6 separate regions of the Homo sapiens genome follow, and regions 2, 3, 4, 5 and 6 are each linked to region 1. The links are contacts of gene promoters, found by promoter capture Hi-C in human tissues and cell types (Jung and others, 2019). All regions are on one chromosome and are shown on one strand. The core of a region is centred on a gene start or on the middle of the fragment in contact, and the rest is flanking DNA. Distances in the headings are between cores, read along the strand shown.

Region 1 (3,543 bases), core at 139-2,638:
TGTATTATATTTATAAATTATGCCCCCCTTTAAATTAAAAGTAGGGGGCCTTTCAGTGTATACTTGCATCAGTGCCAGCAGCAGATCTGCAATTCCGGAGGCATTTTTTTTTCGGAGCTGGCAAGACAGAGAGAGAGAGAGACAGAGATACAGAGAAAGAGGGGAGGAGGGGAGAACCCTTCCCACGTCCCCCACCCGGCCACCACCTTCTTGGTAGTTATAATTTCAACATGTCATCTCATGGACACTAAAGGGTTAATGGTATACCTACCAAATCGGCTGTGGTCTTTCCTGGTTCCCTGGATAGTACCATTGGGGAAGATTTCTAAGTGAAATCCAGTCCTGCAGTATAGCTGCCTCCGCCTGAGAATCCCCTTTAAATGATCCAAGTCCGTGACTGCGGGTCCCCTGGGGAGCCCCCCTGCTTCGGACTGACCCAGGTGGTCACTTAACAAAACCGGGCTGTCCACCGGCAACACGGGCACATTCCCAAACGGTACCGCATCCTGCACACCGAAATAGTTCCCAACTTCACCTAAGGGAGCCATCAGAGGACTCGGCTTTTGGAGCACAAGAATAAACAATAATGATGGTGTCAACCCAGGAGATATTAGGCGAGGTATATCCAACTCCCCTCCCTTACTGCAGTTGCAGAGAGAGAGAGAAAAAAAAGGTTCTTTTCTTCAATCCATTAAATGCATAAATAAAAGTAATCTGCTGTTTCACTGGCACAGGTTCAAGGTCAAACCACTGATAGTCTAAGAAACCACCACTTTATACTCACACACTGACATATTGATAAACATATCTATGTATCTCTATAGATAGATCCCCAGCTCTTAGCAGGCAGGAAGGTCTTCATCCCATCCGACCGTAATAAGGAAAAAAAATCCGTAGTTTCTCCATTTGGTTTGAGATCAGAATGACCATAGCAACTTAAATGCCTAGGCGTTATTATAGGGATTTTTAAGATGCACGGGCTACGTCAGAATTTACGGATCCTGACTCCAGGAAGGCATGCGCTGTTTTTACTCTCTAACCGACTCTGCAGACATCAGCATGAATCCTTCAAGGGGAAAAAAAAATCTCACGTTGGTGGCGGCGACAAATCTCCCCTCCCGGTCCCCCCTCCAAAAAATGATAATAATAATAAAACAAAAAGAAGAAGAAACTTTAGGCGTCCAAAGCTAGTATCCAGGATTCTCCAGAGGCTCGGCAGATGTCCATTGGCTTAGAACGGGTGGCGAGCGGCGAGCGAGGAGAGCCGCGTCCGGGAGCTCGCGTGCCGCCCAGGCTGCCGCGAACAGGTGTTGCCGCGCCGGCTCGCGGAGCGTTGTAGCCGGGCGGAGCGCTCCTCCTGCGCAGCCCCCGCCGGCGCGCAGAGTGGCGCAGGCAGCGGCATTGGGCTGGGTTTAAGGTAGCGCCGCCGCAGCCCGGGCTCCCCGCGGTCCTAGCGCCCGGCTTACTGCCCGCGCCGCTCTGCGGCAGGCGAGGTGCGGCGCGCCAGAGCGCAGGACTTCCTGGGAGGCAGTCGAGGAGCCCTGGCTTTACAAAGAAAAGCAAATGAAAGATGCACTGCGAGAGGCGGGAGGAAGAAACCCTGAGTCTCCCGAGACTCAAAGTTCTCCTGCAGAATAGAAGCCGGTAACCTACAATCTAGCTGGCTGGCTACATTGATGGAGGGTCAGAGTGAAACTGGGAAACTAGTTTTCACTGGGGCTCTGTAACCTTGCGTTGTATTATAGAATATGACTGAGTTGAGAGAGTCGGAGGGAAGGGGAGTTGATTTAATGGACTCGGATGGCCATGGCAGTTTCTCTTCCATTCTTCGGCCACACACACAGAAGCGCAAACTATGTTTCAGGTAAGATCAACTCCTCTCCCCCGTCACACACACACACACACACACACACGCAGATGCGGCCACCGTTTCTGTTTTGTTTGGAGCGTTCTGCTGGGCATCTTTGGGTTGGGGCTATGTTTAGGTCCCGCCCCGCTGCTCGGGTCCCGGCGGCCGCAAAGCAGTCGGCAGGGGGGCGCCAGAGAACCTTCTCTGTCCCCGACTTCGACTCGGGCGCGCGTCTTCGGGAGTCTGGGTGGAGGGGAGCGCTCCAGTAGGCGTCTTCTCGCCCTCAAACCACGCTGCTTAGGACGAGCGGCGCCATCCCAAGCCGTGCATCGGCTCGGGGAAGCGAAAGGCGAGTTCTGGTGTCTCACTCCACCGTCCGAAGCCCGCCGCGGAGCTGGGAGGGCCGGGCACTGGATGCTTGCGGGGCGCCCCGGGGCTGCAGCCGCTCCTTCCTGCTCTGCCCTGCGGGGCCGCACGTGGAAGCCTGAGCTCCGTTGCGCGGGCTCGGGTTTCTGTTAGCCGCCGGCGGCCTTCGCGCCCAGCGGGAGTCAGGGACAAAGAAACCCGCCTCCGGGGGCCGCCAGGGGCCCTGCCGGGCCGGGCCCGCCAGAGAGACTGGAGGCGGCGCGCTCTGCGCCCGGGACAGCCTGCCTGCGCCCGGATCCCCAGTGGCGGCGGGCGCGGAGCGCGGCGCCCCCCAACACACACACACACACACACACACACACACACACACACACACTCGCCCACAGCCCTCCCGCGGGGCCCCCCTTCCCTCCCCCTGCTCCTCTTTGTTCACATTGTCTTAGAAACGGCCCGACTCTCGGGTCAAGATGGTGAAAGTTGCCGAGACTTGAGCGCAGCTCCACACTGCGGGGCGTGCAACTGAGAAGCAAAGTCGAAAGCAGAGACTGAACCCCTGCGGTGGGGAAGCGAATCAAAACCTGGTTATGGGGGAGAAGTCGGATCCGCCTTAGTAGTCAGCTAAAGGCTGGAGATGCATAACTGGGGCTGGCCCTACTCCGGACGGGAGGGCTTCGCCTGAAGACGAAAGGGAGCGATGAATTTGCAGATTTCGGGGGCGCTGGAGGTGCCAGCGACCTGGAGCGACCTTCCCCTGCCCTCCGGGGAGGAAGGCGTGCTCCGGCCCGGGCGAGGAGGAAGGAGAGAAGAGCGAGTGGTCCTCCCCTCTTCCTTTCCCACCCCCCCTTTGCCGCAGTCCAGGGTCATTGGGTGTCCGGGGCTGGCTCGGTGCGTCTTGCTTACGTGTTTCTGAAGCATGAGAGCCCTGCCCCGTGGTATTTACAGCAGTCACATCCGCGGTGGTACAGAGCGGGCTTTAACGTTAACTGCTCGGCGGCAGATACAAGAAGCTGGGTATTAAGTGTCACTTCTCATAAACCACCCGAGTCGCTCGCATTAATCTCCGAGGCAGCCAGCAGTGATGGGTACAGCAGGGGCGTTCCTCGACCAGTTGGGTACAGTGCGCCGGGATGGTTACTTAGTGGGGAAAAAAGCGATGGAAGAAACAGAGACAGGCCCAGAGAGACAGGGAGACGCTTCATAAGAAGAGAAACGAGCAGCACGTGGACATTGGACATTTCCAGTGAAGACAAGACTGGGACCATTTCCACCAGCTGTCTCCAACCACATTCTTTCGATCTGAATTTAGATTGTCATCCAATGAGCAAAGA
Region 2 (3,567 bases), core at 378-2,877, 1.2 Mb before region 1:
CACAAATTAAAACTGATATTTAGACTATTTCTCGGTCCACTAAATTTCTCTCATCCTAAACTCCTGCTAACCACATGTACTCTCTCTGTTCATTTCCCTATTTATTTATATCAGCACTTCCTTCTTCTTGCCAACTTCGGTGCCACATAAGGGAAAAACAACAGAAATCTAACACCCTGGGATACCTTCAGAGAAAACAGAAAAGACACTGCAGACTTCTTTTTGGGAGAAACTCCTGTGTTTTTTTTTTGTTTGTTTGTTTGGTTGGTTGGGTTTTTTTGTGTTTTTTTTTGTGTTTTTTTCTATCAGGGAGTCCTAAGAACTGTAAACGAACATGTTAGCACTAGAGAACATATCCTAGTCATGTGGCACCAAAGTATGTTACTGGTGGCAAATGCATACACGTCTGCAGCAACCTCAATTCCTGCCTGCTCAGAAGAAAGAATTCAGCTGAGGGGCATAAGGCACAGTGAGAGACTGAGGCAAGTTTTAGAGCAGGAGTGAAAATGTACTAAACAGTATTAGAGCAGGAATGAAAGGAAGTAAAGTACACTTGGAAGAGGGCCAAGTGGGCAACTTGAGAGGTTAAACTGCATGGTTTGAGTTTTGATTTGAGGTTTTACGTGTTGGCATGCATTCAGGGGCTTGTGTCCCTTCTCCCCTGATTCTTCCCTCCGGGTAGGAGGGAAGAATCCACCTGAGCAGTGGCCTGCCAGCACTTGAGAGGCTCCGCAAGCACAAGTGTGTTTATGGGAGTTGTGCACATGCTCAGTTGAGGCATTCTTCCCTTACCAGTCGAGTGTTTCTAGAGGAAGGTCATAGACTAATAGTCTAATAGTCTATGACCTTTAGTCATACTAGTGCACATGCCTGAGCCCACTCACCTGTGAACCCCCAAAATTTGAGACAGGTCTCAATTAATTTAGAAAGTTTATTTTGCCAAGGTTGAAGACATGCCCAGTGACATAGCCTCAAGAAGTCCTGATGACATGTGCCCAAGGTGGTCCGGCCACAGCTTGGTTTTATACATTTTAGGGAGACATGAGACATCAATCACTATGTAAGAAGTACATTAGTTCCGTCCGGAAAGGCGGAGACAGCTCAAAGCAAGACCCCCTATTGGGGGCTTCGAAGTAACAGGTAGGTGAGAGACAGATGGTTGCATTCTTTTGAGTTTCTGATAAGTCTTTCCAAAGGAGGCAATCAGAATATGCATCTGTCTCTGTGAGCAAATGGATGACTTGAATAGAATAGAAGGCAGATTTGCCCTGAGCAGTTCCCATCTTGAAGGGACCCAAGATATTTTTCTTTCACATTTTCCCCTTTTCTTTTTTAACATCTTTGGAGAAAGCATTTTTACAACAGAATGAGTCTCCAGTCTCAGGAAAGGTCATCTGACCTTTCCTGGCTAGGACGGTTTATTCCTAGATTGGTAGGTCTGGAAAGTTCATTTTTAGCAGGTTGTGAAGTCTCATGTCCTGTGAAGAGAAAATATGGGGGAGGAAGGGATGAAAAAAACAACAAACAAAAGAACAATCCTGAAAAAATTGATATAGGCCACATTACTCTGCAGTCCATAATAGTAGGCAGGTATGAAAGTGGCTTATGTACGTAAATAGGTTATGTTATATTTTTCTGAAGTTTAAGTTGTCTGGCTTCAGTTCCCAGGGTTTTTAGAAAGCATAGCTTAGTTTTCAGTGACTCCAAATTGGGAAAAATTGAGAAAAAAAAAAGAAGGAAAAAAATTGAAAACATTATTTTGAAGGCTTGTAGCCAAGAAAAATTAGAATTCAGTCCAAACTCTAGAAAAATAATAAAAATTGAAAAAAAATAGGCAAGACTAGACTCTAACAACAGGTGTACAATTGTTTTAGAAGATAATTTGTTTTTCTCTCTTCAGTTTCGCATATTACTAAAGACAAATCATGGTAGGATTGGTTTGTTTATTATACTTGGCCTAACTATTTGTATACAATGCAGCAAGAATGATTATTTTTTACTTAGGCTTTTAAGTAGGCTCTGATGGAACTTTGTTCCATAGCAGGAATCTCAGATAAGACTTTGTAAAACCCGTAAAACCCAGCCGAGCCATGGATTTATGCCATTAAATACCCATGAGTTGGGTGAAATTTCCTCTCCTTTTGAGGGCCCAAGATAAACCTGGGGCGTCTGCACTTGTCAAAAAGTGATATTCTTTACTTACACAGTCAGAAACCCTGTTCAGGGACTGTGTATACAGAATATGAGGCCAGTTTTTCCAAGGGCTTTATTGGCTCCGTAAGTCAAGTTTGATTCCTTATAAGGAAAGCACATGATTCCAGTCAAAGCCTTGGTAAAATAACCAAATTCTCCAAATGTGTCCTGTTACAAATGAAAACAGATTCTTACTGCACTTATGCAAATAACTGTATTGCCATAAGTTAAGAATACTCACAAATAGTTTCCAAATTCTGGATAAATCAGATAGAAACAACTATGCCACAAATTTTGTTCATAGGAGTATACTAAATTGTTAAAATCTGTCAGTAGCTCAAAAGAAAAGTCATAAGACTCGGAAACGCAAAACAAAGGACCAGCAAATATTTTGAGCAAAAAGTAAAAAAGATTGGTTCAGTCCATGCAGTTAATTCCTGTTAATTCCTGCTTGATACTCATGAACATTTAGCTCTCCATGAGTCCTGAAGGTTCTTCCTCTATTCTGTTGTCACAATCTCCAAAGTTATCAGAAACCTGCATTCAAGAGCACCTATTGGAGTTTTATAGCTGATTATAAAACCACCTCCTAAAGAGGACCAAAACAAGACAACAATTGTCCATGGATGAAAAAAAGTTGTTTTTGAGACGGAGGCTCCCTGAGTCGCCCAGGCTGGAGTGCAGTGGTGTGATCTCTGCTCACTGCAAGCTCTGCCTCCCAGGTTCACCCCATTCTCCTGCCTCAGCCTCCTGAGTAGCTGGGACTACAGGCACCCGCCACCATGCCAAGCTAATTTTTTTCTATTTTTAGTAGAGATGAGGTTTTCACCGTGTTAGTCAGGATGGTCTTGATCTCCTGACCTCGTGATCGCCTGTCTCAGCCTCCCAAAGTACAGGGATTACAGGCGTAAGCCACCAGCCCGGCTGAAAAAAAAAGTTTTAAGGCAGCCATAGTCGAAAGGCACAATTGACAAGGAAATTTGTTGCCTCTGTGGCACACAATAATTTTAACATAACAATTATGATGCCGGGTATTTGGTGCCTGGCACAAGACTTTTTTTCTTATATAAAATTATTTTTCTTCAAGCTTTTTTTACCTCAGAAAAATACCTCTTTATTTTTACAACTTTCTTTACATATTTTTTATTTCCTGGTTCCATTTACCTTGTTTTATACATAATGTTTAAATAAGCTTTGAATTAGACATAAATTTTTCACTTTTCTTTTTAAAAGGACACACTTCTCTGTTTTTGTTTTTTTTTTTTAGCAAGAATGTTTTCCTGCAATATATATTTATTGGAAAATACCCAAGTAATGAAACATCTATTATTTAATTTAATATAACTTTATATTCTAAATTATGACCAGTTTGTC
Region 3 (3,688 bases), core at 1,032-3,531, 1.2 Mb before region 1:
CCTCTTAGTAGGGTATTGTGTGTAGGTCTTCAGTGGGACACTCTCTCAGGATGTTTTGGTTCTGAAAGTCTTCATTTCATCCATTCTGTTAGTTCTCTTTTCACTACATTGATTGTTTCCTTTGGTATGCTGAAGCGTTTTACTTTTATGTAATCCCATTTGTTTATTTTTGCTTTTGTTGCCTGTGCTTTGAGGTCTTATTCATAAAATCTTTTCCAAGACCAATATCATAAAGCATTTTCCCTGTGTTTTCTTCTAGTAGTTTTTATAGTTTCAGGTTTTACATTTAAGTCTTTGATCCATTTTGAGTTAACTTCTGCATAGGGCGAGAGATACCTGCAAACTATTCATCCAACAAGGGATTTGTATCTAGAATACACAAGGAATTCAAACATCTCAACAGCAAAAAAAAAAAAAAATTAAAAATGGGCAAATGATTCAAACAGATAGTTCTCAGAAGGACATGCAAATGACTAACAAATATATGGAAAAAGTTCAGTATCACTAATCATCAGATAAATGCAAATCAAAACCACAGTGAGGTATCATCTCACTTCAGTTAGAATGGCCATTGTCAAAAATACAAAAAAAAAACCAAAAAACAAATGCTGGTGAGGAGGTGGAGAAAAGGGAATTCTTACACACTATTGGTGGGAATGTAAACTACTACAGCCACTGTAGAGAATAGTATAGAGTTTCCTCAAAAAAACAAAAATAGAACTAGCATATGATCTAGCAGCCCTACTACTGGGTAAAGAACCAAAGCAAAGAAAATCAGTACATCCAAGAGTTGTCCATACTCCATGTCCATTGCAGCACTATTCACAATAGCCAAGCTATGGAGTCAACCCAAGTCTCCATCAACAGATGAATGGCTAAAGAAAATATGATTTTATACACACACATACACACACCTACACACACACACACACACACACACACACACACAGTGGAATACTATTCAGCAATAAAAAGAATGAATTCTTGTCCTCCATGGAAACATGGATGAGCCTGGAGGAAATGGTGTTAAGTGAAATGAGCCAGGAACAGGAAGTTAAACATGTTCTCACTCATATATAGAAGCTAAAATAGTTGATCTCATAGAAGTAAAGAGTAGAATCCAGGTTATTCAAGGGTGGAAAGGGAAGGGGGATATAGGGAGAGATTTGTTAAAGGACAAAAAATTACAGTTAGGTGGAATAAGTTCTAATGTTTTATAGCACTGTAGGATGACTGTAGTCAAGAATATATATTTTCAAATAGCTAAAAGAGGACATTGAATTCTCCCAACACAAAAAATGATCAATATTTCAGATGGCAGATATGCTAATATCCCTGATCTGATTACTATACATTGTATGTATAGAAACACCAATACGTACCCCACAAATACATACAGTATTATGTATGAATTTTTAAAAATAAATAATTTTTATAGTCAATGAAAATAGTTTATTATTTTATTGTTTTTTGTTTATACATGTTAAGTTTCAACTTTCAATAATAAAATTCAATAAATTTGATTCCTTAATCATAAAAACTTGCTTTACACATTAGTTACATGTTGTCAAAGTCCATACAAAACATCACAAGGATTTGATTGACTCTATGCATGGTACCATCACACAGAAGGAGGAGGGAGCTAATCCAGTAACAAACATTCAAAGATTAAATTGTAGATATGCACAGTGTATTTGGCACTGTTGATTAATATTATAACACCTTCCTCTCAAAGACAGGCATTCTTAAGCGTTAGTCACAATATACCAGAATTTGCTATTCATATTAAAACCACCTTTTAAACTTTATAACAGTAACCAATTATTATAGTTTTAAGAAACAAAACGCAATGAGAACTGGGAATGGAATTCAAATCCTCCAACTTCTTGCTATGCTCCAAGCTGCCATCCATAAAACAGGTTTAATTTGGTAATTTTTCCATTGTGGGAAGTGTCAACAAGAAACAATTTAAAGACAATATTTTCCAATACAAATAAAGACATACACTTTTGTTTAAAATGAACAGTTCTTCTTGGGAGTGCAAAGGGAGCCTTGATGACGTACAGCTTGTGATGATTTTGGCAGCAATTACAGAACAACCAAGGCCATTCAAGTTGTGGAGATTATACTAGCAGGTGAACTCGTAAAGAGAAGATTCTGGAATGCCTATATCTGAAATCAGAATCCTAGTAGTTTGTAGTTTGCCTCTTCCTAGAAGTTCAAGAGACTCAAGTCATAGGCTACAGATGTACTTTCAAGTATATAATTATGAATGGAAGGAGAAAATAAAAGCACAAAAATGCAAATATTAAACCTTTAGTGACTTGGACTATATTCCAGTAGGTAATTTATTCCACTAACTTCACTTTAACAAAGATTAAATCCCTTTATTTTAATCAGGTCCATTAAATTTCATTCATTAAAGTTATACATACTCCAGAATGTTTATAAGACATTTACACCGATCATGTTTACAAAAAGCATAAATTCAGTCTTAAGCTGCACTACAAATGCCTTAATATAACATAATCACAGTATAAGGAAACAAATCAGAAATTCTCTGATTAGATATGCTGTAGCTTCACAGAAAACTCTCAGTAATAAATTAAAACAAAAAGACTTACAATGTATAATGGGCTATGCAGTGCAAAATGATGTCACCGGACCAAAATTTAGTTCAATCATTTTTATTTCAAGTGTGTTTTAAAAATCATAAACGGGGTTTCATAATCCAAAGCTGAAACATTTATTCTTCATAGCTTCAGAATTGACAAGCAATTGTAGACCATGCTTTCCAAATCCACTCTTCTTTGCTATTTTTCAAATTTCTGAGATCTAGTATTAAACTGCTCCATTCTAAATGTACAGTTTTAGATAACTATTGTACACTTGTTGATAAGAGTTTTCTGAAAACAGTCTATCAAATACAAAGAATGGTTTCTATCCAAGAATCAGCAGTGAGGGAAGAAATACTAAACACCTGTCAAGAAATCAGTTATTCATTTTAAAAAATAACAGAACCAGTGCTGCTCTCTGTCATAAAAAAGAACATGTAAAATTTATTTTTATAGGCTTTGGTAACATTATATTCCCCACAGAGGCCTTCAATCCTACTTAAAGATATTTTACACACGGTAACCATCAGGTTTACTGAGTAAAAATCTCAGGTATTAACCATGCCCCTAAAATGTGCTGTTCCAAAGAGGAACAGGTTACTTTTGAGGAAAAAAGCTGCCTTGGTAACTTCCCTCAAATGTTTATTTTAAATAAAAATAGTTGATGGAAGTATTTTTTAAACCAACTTTGGATATAATATGGCATACTGCCCATCAAACAAAAAAGGAAATCAAAACTTTTCTTCCATTTATAATGAGTTTTCCACCTTTACTTTTAAGATTACAACTTACTGACCTTTTATGCTTGTTTGGTTTTTTGACTGCCTAATCCAATATTTAAATTTTTAAAAGTCTGCATTTCAATGTAGTAAGAGTTCTTTTTCAAATAATCTTCATAAGCCAGAATACAGACACCAGAGCAACACTCTCAAGTCACACTGTTTGACTATAATGAAGAGATGAAAATGGGCGGATATCTGAAGATAGGTATTCCCTCTGCTCTGAAGGTGAGCAAGCTTTTAACATGTGAGCAACACAGAACTCCTTTCCTCTGGGGCTCCTTTCAACTCAGA
Region 4 (3,384 bases), core at 524-3,023, 1.6 Mb before region 1:
TCTGTTCGTGCATCAGGCTGCTAGGCAGTTGGGACAAATTAGCTGCAGCCTGGCTCAGTGGGTCTCAGAAAACCCAACTGCCAAACTTCATCAACTTGTGTGGGCACAACTTGCATCTTTCTGGGTGTGTCTCATATTTAAGTTTAACAAAATTGATTTTTCTTATTGGAAATAGAAAGAAAGTGAACAACAGTAACCAGAGCTGTATTTATCAGTGGTAAGATTCCACTGTTGTTTATAATTTGGTATCTTTTATTTCACAGATTTGAAATGCTAGTTACTAGTGCTTGCTTTTCAATGTTTGACTTTCTTTGGAATTTGTGTTAGTTCATTATTGCATTGCTACAAAGAAATTCCTGAGGCTGGGTAATTTACAAAGAAAAGGTATTTAACTGGCTCATGGTTCTGCAGGGTGTACAAGCATGATGCCAGCATCTACTTCTGGTGACGGCCTCAGGAAGCTTCCAATCATGGTGTAAGGAAAAGAGGGAGCAGGTATATCTTATGGCAAGAACAGAAGCAAGAGAGAGAGAAGAGAGAAGAGAGAATTTAAATTTATTTATTTACTATTCTTTTATTTCAATAGCTTTAGGTGTACAAATGGTTTTTGGTTATGTGTGTATAGTTGTGATGTCTAGGATTTTAGTGCACTCATCACCCAAGTAGTGTACATAGTACCCAATAGGTAGTTTTTCATCTCTCACCCACTTCTCACCCTCCACTTTCCCCTCTTCTGAGCCTCCAACGCTCATTTTACCACTCTGTATGCCTTCGCATACCCATAGCTTAATTCCCACTTATAAGTGAGAACATGTGGCATTCGATTTTTGATTCCTGAGTGTTACTTCACATAAAATAATGGCCTCCAATTCCATCCAAGTCACTGCAAAAGACATTATATCACTCTTTTTCATGGCTGAATATATTTCCATGGTGTATATATCCACACACCACAATTACATATATCATATATATATATGTGATATAGCACTTTTTTTTTTTTTGAGACAGAGTCTTGCTCTGTTGCCCAGGCTGGAGTGCAGTGGCGTGATCTCGGCTCACTGCAACCTCCACCTCCCAGGTTCAAGCAATTCTCCTGCCTCAGCCTCTTGAGTAGCTGGGATTACAGGCGCCTGCCACCATACCTAATTTTTGTATTTTTGGTAGAGATGGGGTTTCAACATGTTGTCCAGGCTGGTCTCGAACTCCTGACCTCAGGTATATCACATATTCTTTATCCACACATTGTTTGATGGGCATTTAGGTTGATTTTATATCTTTGTGATTTTGAATTGTGCTGTGATAAACATGTGTGTGCAGGTGTCTTTTTGATATAATGACTTCTTTTCCTTTGGGTAGATACCCAGCAGTGGGATTGCTAGGTTAAATCTACTTTTAGTTCTTTGAGAAATCTCCATACTGTTTTCCATAGAGGTTCTACTAATTTTACATTCCCATCAGCAGTGTCTAAGCATTCCTTTTTCACCACATTCGTATCAACATCTATTGTTTTTTGACTTTTTCATAATGGCCATTCCGGCTGGCATAAGGTGGTATCTCATTGTGGTCTTAATTTGCATTTCCCTGATGACTAGTGGTATGGAGTGTATTTTCATATTTGTTGGCTATTTTTGTATCTTCTTTTGAGAAATGTCTATTAATGTCTTTTGCCTACTTATTTTATTTATTTATTTTTTTTGAGACGGAGTCTCACTCTGTCTCCAGGCTGGAGTGCAGTGGCACAATCTTGGCTCACTGCAACCTCCACCTCCCAGGTTCAAGCGAATTCTCCTGCCTCAGCCTCCTGAGTAGCTGGGACTACAGGTGCGTGCAACTGCACCCAGCTAACTTTTGTATTTTTAGTAGAAACAGGGTTTCACCATGTTGGCCAGGATGGTCTTGATGTTTTGACCTCGTGATCCTCCTGCTTCGGATTCCCAAAGTGCTGGGATTACAGGCATGAGCCACTGTGCCCGGCCCCTTTGCCTACTTTTTAATGATATTATTCATTTTTTTTTTCTTGCTGATCTGTTTTATTTCCTCGTAGATTCCAGATATTAACTTTTTTAAAAATCTTTTTTCCCAAGTTAGATATTAGTCCTTTGTCAGATGCATAATTAGTACATATTTTCTCCCATTCTATAGGCTGTCTGTTTACTCTGATGAGTATTTATTTTGCTGTGCAGAAGTTTTTTAGTTTAATTAGGTTCCATTTATTTTTGCTTTTGTTGCATTTACTATTGAGGTTTTAGTCACCTAAATCATTGTCCAGAAGAGTTTTCTATAGATTTTCTTCTAGAATTTTTATGATTTCAAGTCTTAGATTTAAGTCTTAAACCCATCTAGAGCTAATTTTTGTATATGGTGAGAGTAGAAATCCAGTTTCATTCTTCTACACGACCTAGGCAATCCAATTTTCCCAGCACCATTTATTGAATAGGATGTGTTTTCCCCAGTTTATGTTTTTGTATGGTTTGTCAAAGATCAATTAGTTGTAAGTACTTCACTTTATTTCTGGGTTCTCTATTCTGATCCATTGATCTATGTATCTACTTTTATACCACTACCATGCTGTTTGGGTTACTACAGCCTTGTAGTATAATTTGAAGTCCGGTAATGTGATATTTTTAGATTTATTCTTTTTGCTTAGGATGTATTTGGCTATTCAGGCACTTTTTTGGTTCCGTATGAATTTTAGGATTATATTTCCTAATTCTGTAAGAATGATGCTGGTATTTTAATAGAAATTGCATTGAATTTGTAGACTGCTTTGGTCAGTATGGTCATTTTGCAATATTGATTCTTCTAATACATGAATATGAGATGTATTTCAATTTGCTTGCATCATCTATGATTTCTTTCAGCAATGTTTTGTAGTTATCCTTGCAGAGATCTTTCATCTCCTTGGTTAAGTATATTTCTCGGTATTTTTTTTTTGTAACCATTGTAAAATGAATTGACTTCTTGATTGGATTCTCGGCTTGGTTGCTGTTGGTGTATAGCAGTGCTACTAATTTGTGTACATTTATTTTTGTAACCTGAGACTTTACTGAATTCATTCATCAAATCTAGGAGTCTTCTGGAGGAGTGTGTAGGGTTTTCTAGCTATAAGATCGCATCATTGGCAAACAGAGATACTTTGATTTCTTTTCCAATTTGGATGCCCTTTGTTTTTTTATCTTGCAATGATTACTCTGGCTAGCACTTTCAGTACGATGTTGAATACAAGTGGTGAAAATGGGCATCCTCGTCTTGTTCTGTAATAGTTCTTAGGGGGAATGCTTTCAACTTTTTTCCTTCCAGTATAATGTTGGCCATGAGTTTGTCATATATGGCTTCTATTATTTTGAGATATATTTCTTCTATGCCTAGTTGGTTGAGGGT
Region 5 (3,415 bases), core at 432-2,931, 1.7 Mb before region 1:
AAGTTTGTTCATGTTCTTTCCATTTGAGCCTGTTGGTCCAGGGGCCCTGCCGTGGCTTTGCAGCTGGTGCCCTCTGAAAGACGTTACTGCCCTGCACCCAACTACCCTGTGAGCCCAAGGTGACTGCAACTTGTGGGTGGGGTGGTGAGGGTTGGTGAATGGCCTCTCCCGATGTCTGTGCTTATTGTGTTTTCTGGGAGGGAGGTGACTATGCATGAACTCAGTCCTGCCCAGTATTTCATGAACACTGTGGCTTCATCTTATGTTTTCAGAGGCTCAAAACCCGTCCTTCACATGTGGCCAGGAGAGGGGAGAGAAGGGCCTGTCTTGTCCCTTCTATGGCTTCTCCCTCCTCTTTTTCTTAGATACCTCTGCATCCGAATGAAACAAAACTCTCAACAAATATCCTTCCGCCTCCTTTAGGAGAAAACAAATTGTGTAATGGAAAGAGCATAAACTTTTAAGCCAGACATCCTTGGTTTGACTCAGCTTTGCCATTTGCTAGTCGTGTGGCCTTGAATCAGTTACTTTTTTCATATCATGAGGAAATAATGTTAGGGATTTTGCATGTAGAACACTTCACATAGTATCTGACACAGAATGAGTGCTCGAGAAAAGGCAACCATTGTTGTTATGACTCCCTTCTCCAGAAACAACACAAAGCCTAGTCATTGGAGGCATTGTATTTTCTAAGTGTGTGAATGACTCTCACACCCCAAAGTGCCTGTCATTTCACAGGCGTTCTAGGAAAGGTGCTGTCCACCACTGTCTCAGCCTAATAAGCAGTTAGTTGCAAACCTGGCTGTCTAATCCCACTTTGTTGATTTCAGGGATTTTCTTTTTGCCACTGTCATCCCTCCATATGTCCAAGTATGCCATAGTCTGTTTTGGGGAGAGGCATACCAAGTGTCTTTGGCCATTACATAGGAAATGCAAGATGGAAAGAGAGGGCCCGGTTACAGTCCTGATGAGTACCACACAGTATCTTTAGGAAAAGAGTCATCAAAAGGCAACAGGATGCCTCCTGACCGTCTGAGGTCCTCGTCAAGTTGGGGGGACCCGGTAGACTTGGTTTCCCTCAGCTCCCAGCTCCGGGCTCCATTTTACTGCATCCTGGGAGACAGGAAAGTCAGTCTGCATGCGTGATTCTGAGCCCTTCCTTGGAGTATTTGCAGTCTGCATCTGGTCTGCAAAAGGTGACTCATTGTTGGCTCTGTCAGCTTCTGAAGGGTAAGGGATCCATGTTCCATGTGCACATGAAGGAACTCAGGGAGGAAAGGAGGGAACCCACACTGATGGGCACTTTGCAGTACTTTCCTGCCAATCTGGCATGCTGTACCTGTCACAGTCAGTTTGATTCCCTTTCTCCCTCCTGGATGGAATAGGCGATCATACTGTGTGGAGTATTCTACCGGTCAGGCACCCCACAGTCCAATTAGGATCAATCATGGGTTTATGTGCAAAGGGGGAAACGGAACCATGAGAAGCCATCCTGGAACTTGGGGAAAGTAGTAGCTGTGGCATCATGACCCTCTAGACCCGAGGGACTAGGGGAGGAGCAATTACTTGAACCTTGAAGGGCGCAGAGTCCCGATGTAGAGCAAGCTCCCTGAGAAGGACAGTGACCTTGGGCTGAAGGACATAACCAGGCCCTGGTGACGCTGCAGGAGGCATGAATTCCCTGACCGTACTCTCTTCCTTACTCCCAGCTCCTGTGGGGACTCCTTATGGGCCAACTCCACCTGCAACCAAAGTGACCACAGCCCTGTTGCCCAAAGAGGCCAACCTGAGCCGGAGAGCTGGGTGGGCAGAGCCTCAGGGGCAAAGGGAAGACATTTGGAGTCTGTGGAAAGATGCTTGGATGTTCACCTCCTTCACCCAGAATTGACAGTAATCCTTTGCCTGACTTCCGTGCCTCTTGACCTCTTTTTAAGAATTTTATCATGAAAAATTTCAGGCATGTACAGAGGTATAGAAAAATATCACTGGGAGCATTCACAAACTCAGTGTGCAGATTCCACAATGATTGAAATTCCGCCACATGAGTTTATATTGACCTTTTTCCTTGTGTTGGTATTTTAAAGCAATTCCCAGAGACCCTGTGTTGCACTGGTCCCCAGGCACGGCCTGTGGTGGCGTCTGCACTGAGGGGTGCAGGCGTGTGGTAGTGTTTCTCAGACAGCATGGTGGTCACCTGGAGAAGCCCAGAGTGGCCCAGGGCAGGTTTGGGCTGGAGAAGGAGGGACTCCTGTGTGCAGCACCAGAGCGAGCTCAGTGTAAACACCTGAATGAGGGGCATGACAACACATGAACACGCTCGCTACTTAACATCTGCGGGCACTGGAATCAGTGCTCTTTAGACACGACGAGGGATGGCTGCCTTCACTGAAAAACAAACTGATAGCTTCTTCATGAGAATAACATAAAACAAATGTATTACCCAGTATAACACATTAGGATTTTATTTACTTATTTACTTCTTATTTATTTTTCTGAGACAAGGTCTCACTCTGTCACCCAGGCTGGAGTGTGGTGGTATGATCATGGCTTACTGCAGCCTTGACCTCCCAGCTCAGCTTTCTGAGTAGCTGAGACTATAGGTGTGTGCCCCCACACACTAAATATAAAATTAGTCCCCCAGCTAATTTTTATATTTTTTGTAGAGACGAGGTTTTGCCATCTTGCCCAGGCTGGTCTAGGACTCCTGAACTCAAGCAATGTGCCTACCTCAGCTTCCCGAAGTGCTGGGATTACAAGTGTGAGCCATTGTGCCCAGCCAGGATTTTAAATGATCTCATTTGTTAAATCTCTTAGGGGTGGAATCCCATGTAGAAATGGTAACTTGGAGTCAAACAGACTGAAGATTTTTTTTTAATTAATCAGGAAAAATGATCTATGTGTGAACCTTTACTATAAGTTATTCTTACTTCTAGTATGTTGTGATTTAGAACAGTAGTAAGAAGAAAAATACTGCAGAAATAAAGCACTAATTCTTTTCAGAGCCAAACACAGTTTGAAGCCTACAGAAGCTCCTAGACCAAGTAAAATAGGTTCTATAGAAATAATAAATTCTATACCCTGTAGAAAGAATAACTTTTAAACCCTTGTAGAGTGAATAGAAAAAAAACCAAATCCATTGAAAATTTGTAGAAAATATAAAACTCCATAATTGTAGGAAATATAAATATCAGAAAAGCTGCATAAAAGTGGTCGCATATTATTGTGACTTCTGGCATATGTAGATGCAGCCAAATAACTTGACATTTTGATGTAAAATTAAAATGCTCCCTTGTCCATCCCCCAACTCCCTGCAAAAAGAAGCAAAAAGCAGAAAGAGTAGAACTGATCCTTCTCACAGTAGAAGAAAATGATGGCTAAATGCAGAATACAAAAAGAACAGATTTTAGACATTGTA
Region 6 (3,702 bases), core at 444-2,943, 1.2 Mb before region 1:
GTCCCAGTAACTGTGCCCATCCATTGTTACCACAGGTCACAGTGGCCCTGGCCCTGGGGCATTATACTCTCTCTTGGTGTATTAGTCCATTCTTAGGCTGCTAATAAAGATATATCTGAGACTGGGTAATGTATAAAGAAAAAGAGGTTTAATGGACTCACTGTTACATATGGCTGGGGAGACCTCACAATCATGGAGGAAGGTGAAGGAGGATCAAAGGCACATCTTACATGGTGGCAAGACAGAGAGCATGTGCAGGGGAATTGCCCTTTATAAAACCATCAGATCTCATGAGACTTATTCACTATCATGAGAACAGCATGGGAAAAACCCGCCCGCATGATTCAATTACTTCCCACTGAATCCCTCCCATGACACATGGGGATTATGGGAGCTGCAATTCAAGATGAGATTTTGGGGGAAGGGCATAGCCAAACCATATCATTCTTCCCTGGGCCCCTCCCAAATGTCATGTCCTCACATTTCAAAATACAATCATGCCTTCCCAACAGTCCTCCAATGTCTTAACTCATTTCAACATTAACCCAAAAGTCCAAGTCCAAAGTCTCATCTGAGACAAGGCAAGTCCCTTTCGCCTATGAGTCTGTAAAATCAAAAGCAAGTTAGTTATTTTCTATATACAATGGGGGTACAGGCATTGAATAAATATTCCCATTCCAAATAAGAGAAATTGGCCAAAACAAAGGGGCTCCAGGCCCCATGCAAGTCTAAAATCCAGCAGGGCAGTCAAATCTTAAAGCTCCAAAATGATCTCTTTTGACTCCATGTCTCACATCCAGGTCACATTGATGCAAGAGGTGGGTTCCCATGGTCTTGGGTAGCTCCATCCTTGTGACTTTGCAGGGCACAGCTCCCCTCCCAGCTGCTTTCGCGGGCTGGCATTGAGTGGCTGTGGCTTTTCCAGGTTCATGGTGCAAACTGTCAGTGGATCGACCATTCTGGGGTCTGGAGGACAGTGGCCCTCTTCTCACAGCTCCACTAGGCAGTGCCCAATGGAGACTCTGTATAGGGGCTTCCACCCCACATTTCCCTTCCACACTGCCCTAGCAGAGGTTCTCCATGAAGGCTCTGCCCCTGCAGCACACCTCTGTCTGGACATCCAGGCATTTCCATACATCCTCTGAAATCTAGGCAGAGGTTTCCAAACTTCAATTCTTGACTGCTATGCACCTACAGGCTCAACACACCATGTGGAAGCTGCCAAAGCTTAGGGCTTGCACCCTCTGAATCCACGGCCTGGGCTGTACCTTGGCCCTTTTAGCCATGGCTGGAGCAGCTGGGATGCAGGGCACCAAGTCTAAAGGCTGCACACAGCAGGCGGGCCCTGGACCCAGCCCAGGAAACCATTTTCCCTCCCAGGCCTCTGGGCCTGTGATGGTAGGGGCTGTTGCAAAGGTCTCTGACTTGCCCTGGAAATATTTTCCCCATTGTCTTGGTGATTAGCATTTGGCTCCTTGTTACTTATGCAAATTTCTGCAGCTGGCTTGAATTTATCCTCAGAAAATGGGTTTTGCTTTTGTGCTGCATTGTCAGGCTGCAAATTTTTCAAACTTTTAAGCTCTGCTTCATCTTGAACACTTTGCCACTTTGAAATTTCTTCTACCAGATACTTTAAATCATCTCTCTCAAGTTCAAAGTTCCACAGATCTCTAGGGCAGGGGCAAAATGTCACCAGTCTCTTTGCATAGCAAGAGTGACCTTTACTCCAGTTCCCAACAAGTTCCTCATCTCCATCTGAGACCACCTCAGCCTGGACTTTATTGTGCATATCACTATCAACATTTTGGTCAAAGCCATTCAACAGTCTCTAGGAAGTTCCAAACTTTCCCACATTTTCCTTTCTTCTTCTGAGCCCTCCAAACTATTCCACCCTCTGCCTGTTACCTAGTTCCAAATTCACTTCCACATTTTGGGTATCTTTACAGCGGCACCACACTCTACTGGTACCAGTTTACTATATTAGTTCATTCTCACACTGCATTAAGACATACCTCGAGACTGGGTAATTTATAAAGAAAAAGAGGTTTAATGGAATCACAGTTCCACATGGCGGGGGAAGCCTCATAATCATGGAGGAAGGTGAAGGAGGAACAAAGGTATGTCTTACACGGCGGCAGGCAAGAGACCATGTGTAGGGGAACTGCCCTTTATAAAACCATCCAATCTAGTGAGACATTCACTATCATGAGAACGACATGGGAAAAACCTGCCCCCATGATTCAGATACCTCCCACTGGGTCCCTCCCATGACACACAGGGATTATGAGAGCTACAATGCAAGATAAGATTTGGGTGAGGACACAGCCGAACCATATCACTTGGGAATTCCCTGCATCCTACCCAGACCTTTGTAAGCTGGTCTCAGCCTGCCCAATTTGAATGTGCTGGTTCTTCCAGATCCCTGATGCATACCATTGTCTTGGCCAGGCCCATCACATAATGATTTTGAATCTTTTGACAGTATTCACCATATAATATGGCTACTTGAAGTAAATGTTTTCTAACCTGTCATTTAAAGTGATTTATGTATCATCTATATATCTACATTGTAAGTTAAAAAAAATCAACTGGATTAATAGGAAAGTAAATGTCAAAATAAGTGCAAAGGCAGGTTAGGTCCAAGGTTTTTTAAGTCCAGCAGTTCAGTAAGGCTAAGGCCCTCTTTCTTCTCTGCCAAACTCAATGTGTGGGCTTGATCTTCTAGATCACTCTCTAAAGGTGGCATGGTCCTTGCAGTTGATTTAGATATATTTTCATATCCTCCAGGCTAGGAAGCATTGATAGGCAAAAAATAAAATAATGTACCTTCTTAAGAATGAAGATACTGGGGGCCAGGTACAGTGGCTCACGTCTGTAATCCCAGCACTTTGGGAGGCCAAGGCAGGCGGATCATGAGGTCAGGAGATCAAGACCATCCTGGCTAACATGGTAAACCCCATCTCTACTAAAAACACACACAAAAAAATTAGCCGGGTGTGGTGGCAGTCACCTGTAGTCCCAGCTACTTGGGAGGCTGAGGCAGGAGAATGGTGTGAACCCGGGAGGCGGAGCTTGCAGTGAGTGGAGATTGTGCCACTGCACTCCAGCCTGGGCGATAGAGCAAGACTCTGTCTCAAAAAAAAAAAAAAAAAAAAAAAAAAAAAGAATGAAGATACATTTTCAGAAGATTCTTAGTAGAGTAACATTCAAATCTGTTTAGCAAGAACCACTTAATTGCTTGTCTACATCAATTAGCTGCAAAGGGAGTGGGGCCCTTATGAACACATAAAAGGAATCCAAACCTGCCTTTTAGAATCTGTGAAGCAAGCATGAGTTAAATAAAGGAGGGTGGATACCTAAAAAAAAAATCAATATCATGTCAGAAAGAAAGAAGCAGCTTTGAATGTCAGGTAGGCAATAAATAGTAACTGATACACTAAAATCTTTCCATTTTGTCCTCCGTCCATCCATCCATCCATCCATCCATCCATTCATCCATCTCATAATAAACTAATGCCACATAAAACTGAAATCATGTATTTGCTATTTCTTCCCCTTAAAAATTTTTGAATGTGACTCATGTTCACAACACACTGAATTTAGTGTGCTGGTTTACTTAATTTTTTTGTTTTTTTCAACAGACTGCTTACTTGTTAAGGTAAGAAGCACCTGTGAGTCTACTACTCATTGCTTTAACCTGGC

The links. The method cuts DNA at HindIII sites, captures the fragments that hold promoters and counts their contacts. A contact is called where the count stands out against the background at its distance.
Region 2: a fragment that was not itself captured here is called in contact with the fragment with the promoter of FGF9 in region 1 in 1 of the 25 tissues and cell types used here (lymphoblastoid cells).
Region 3: a contact is called between a fragment that was not itself captured here and the fragment with the promoter of FGF9 in region 1, in 1 of the 25 tissues and cell types used here (dorsolateral prefrontal cortex).
Region 4: a contact is called between a fragment that was not itself captured here and the fragment with the promoter of FGF9 in region 1, in 1 of the 25 tissues and cell types used here (lymphoblastoid cells).
Region 5: a contact is called between a fragment that was not itself captured here and the fragment with the promoter of FGF9 in region 1, in 1 of the 25 tissues and cell types used here (dorsolateral prefrontal cortex).
Region 6: a fragment that was not itself captured here is called in contact with the fragment with the promoter of FGF9 in region 1 in 1 of the 25 tissues and cell types used here (lymphoblastoid cells).

What each region holds. Positions count from the first base shown.
Region 1 is chr13:21,668,918-21,672,460 of GRCh38, reverse strand. FGF9 (fibroblast growth factor 9) reads right to left here and starts at 1,388. Exons shown (of 3, transcript NM_002010.3): 1 at 272-1,388. The coding sequence starts at 548. RefSeq lists silencers at 1,401-1,460, 1,481-1,530, 2,311-2,570. The HindIII fragment of the contact is 7,376 bases long and covers 1-3,543 here.
Region 2 is chr13:22,890,522-22,894,088 of GRCh38, reverse strand. All of the region lies in intron 2 of LINC00621 (long intergenic non-protein coding RNA 621), which reads left to right. The region is part of intron 1 of LOC105370109 (a long non-coding RNA gene); the gene reads right to left. Among named protein-coding and RNA genes, the nearest start is that of LINC00621, 24 kb to the left of the region's middle. The HindIII fragment of the contact is 8,684 bases long and covers 1-3,567 here.
Region 3 is chr13:22,916,994-22,920,681 of GRCh38, reverse strand. It overlaps the pseudogene NUS1P2. Among named protein-coding and RNA genes, the nearest start is that of LINC00621, 2.5 kb to the right of the region's middle. The HindIII fragment of the contact is 8,694 bases long and covers 1-3,688 here.
Region 4 is chr13:23,263,892-23,267,275 of GRCh38, reverse strand. The region is part of intron 4 of SGCG (sarcoglycan gamma); the gene reads right to left. It also overlaps the pseudogene SDAD1P4. Among named protein-coding and RNA genes, the nearest start is that of SGCG, 85 kb to the right of the region's middle. The HindIII fragment of the contact is 3,385 bases long and covers 81-3,384 here.
Region 5 is chr13:23,389,741-23,393,155 of GRCh38, reverse strand. The region is part of intron 2 of SACS (sacsin molecular chaperone); the gene reads left to right. Among named protein-coding and RNA genes, the nearest start is that of SACS-AS1, 28 kb to the left of the region's middle. The HindIII fragment of the contact is 6,594 bases long and covers 1-3,415 here.
Region 6 is chr13:22,869,078-22,872,779 of GRCh38, reverse strand. No RefSeq gene overlaps it. Among named protein-coding and RNA genes, the nearest start is that of LINC00621, 45 kb to the left of the region's middle. The HindIII fragment of the contact is 9,156 bases long and covers 1-3,702 here.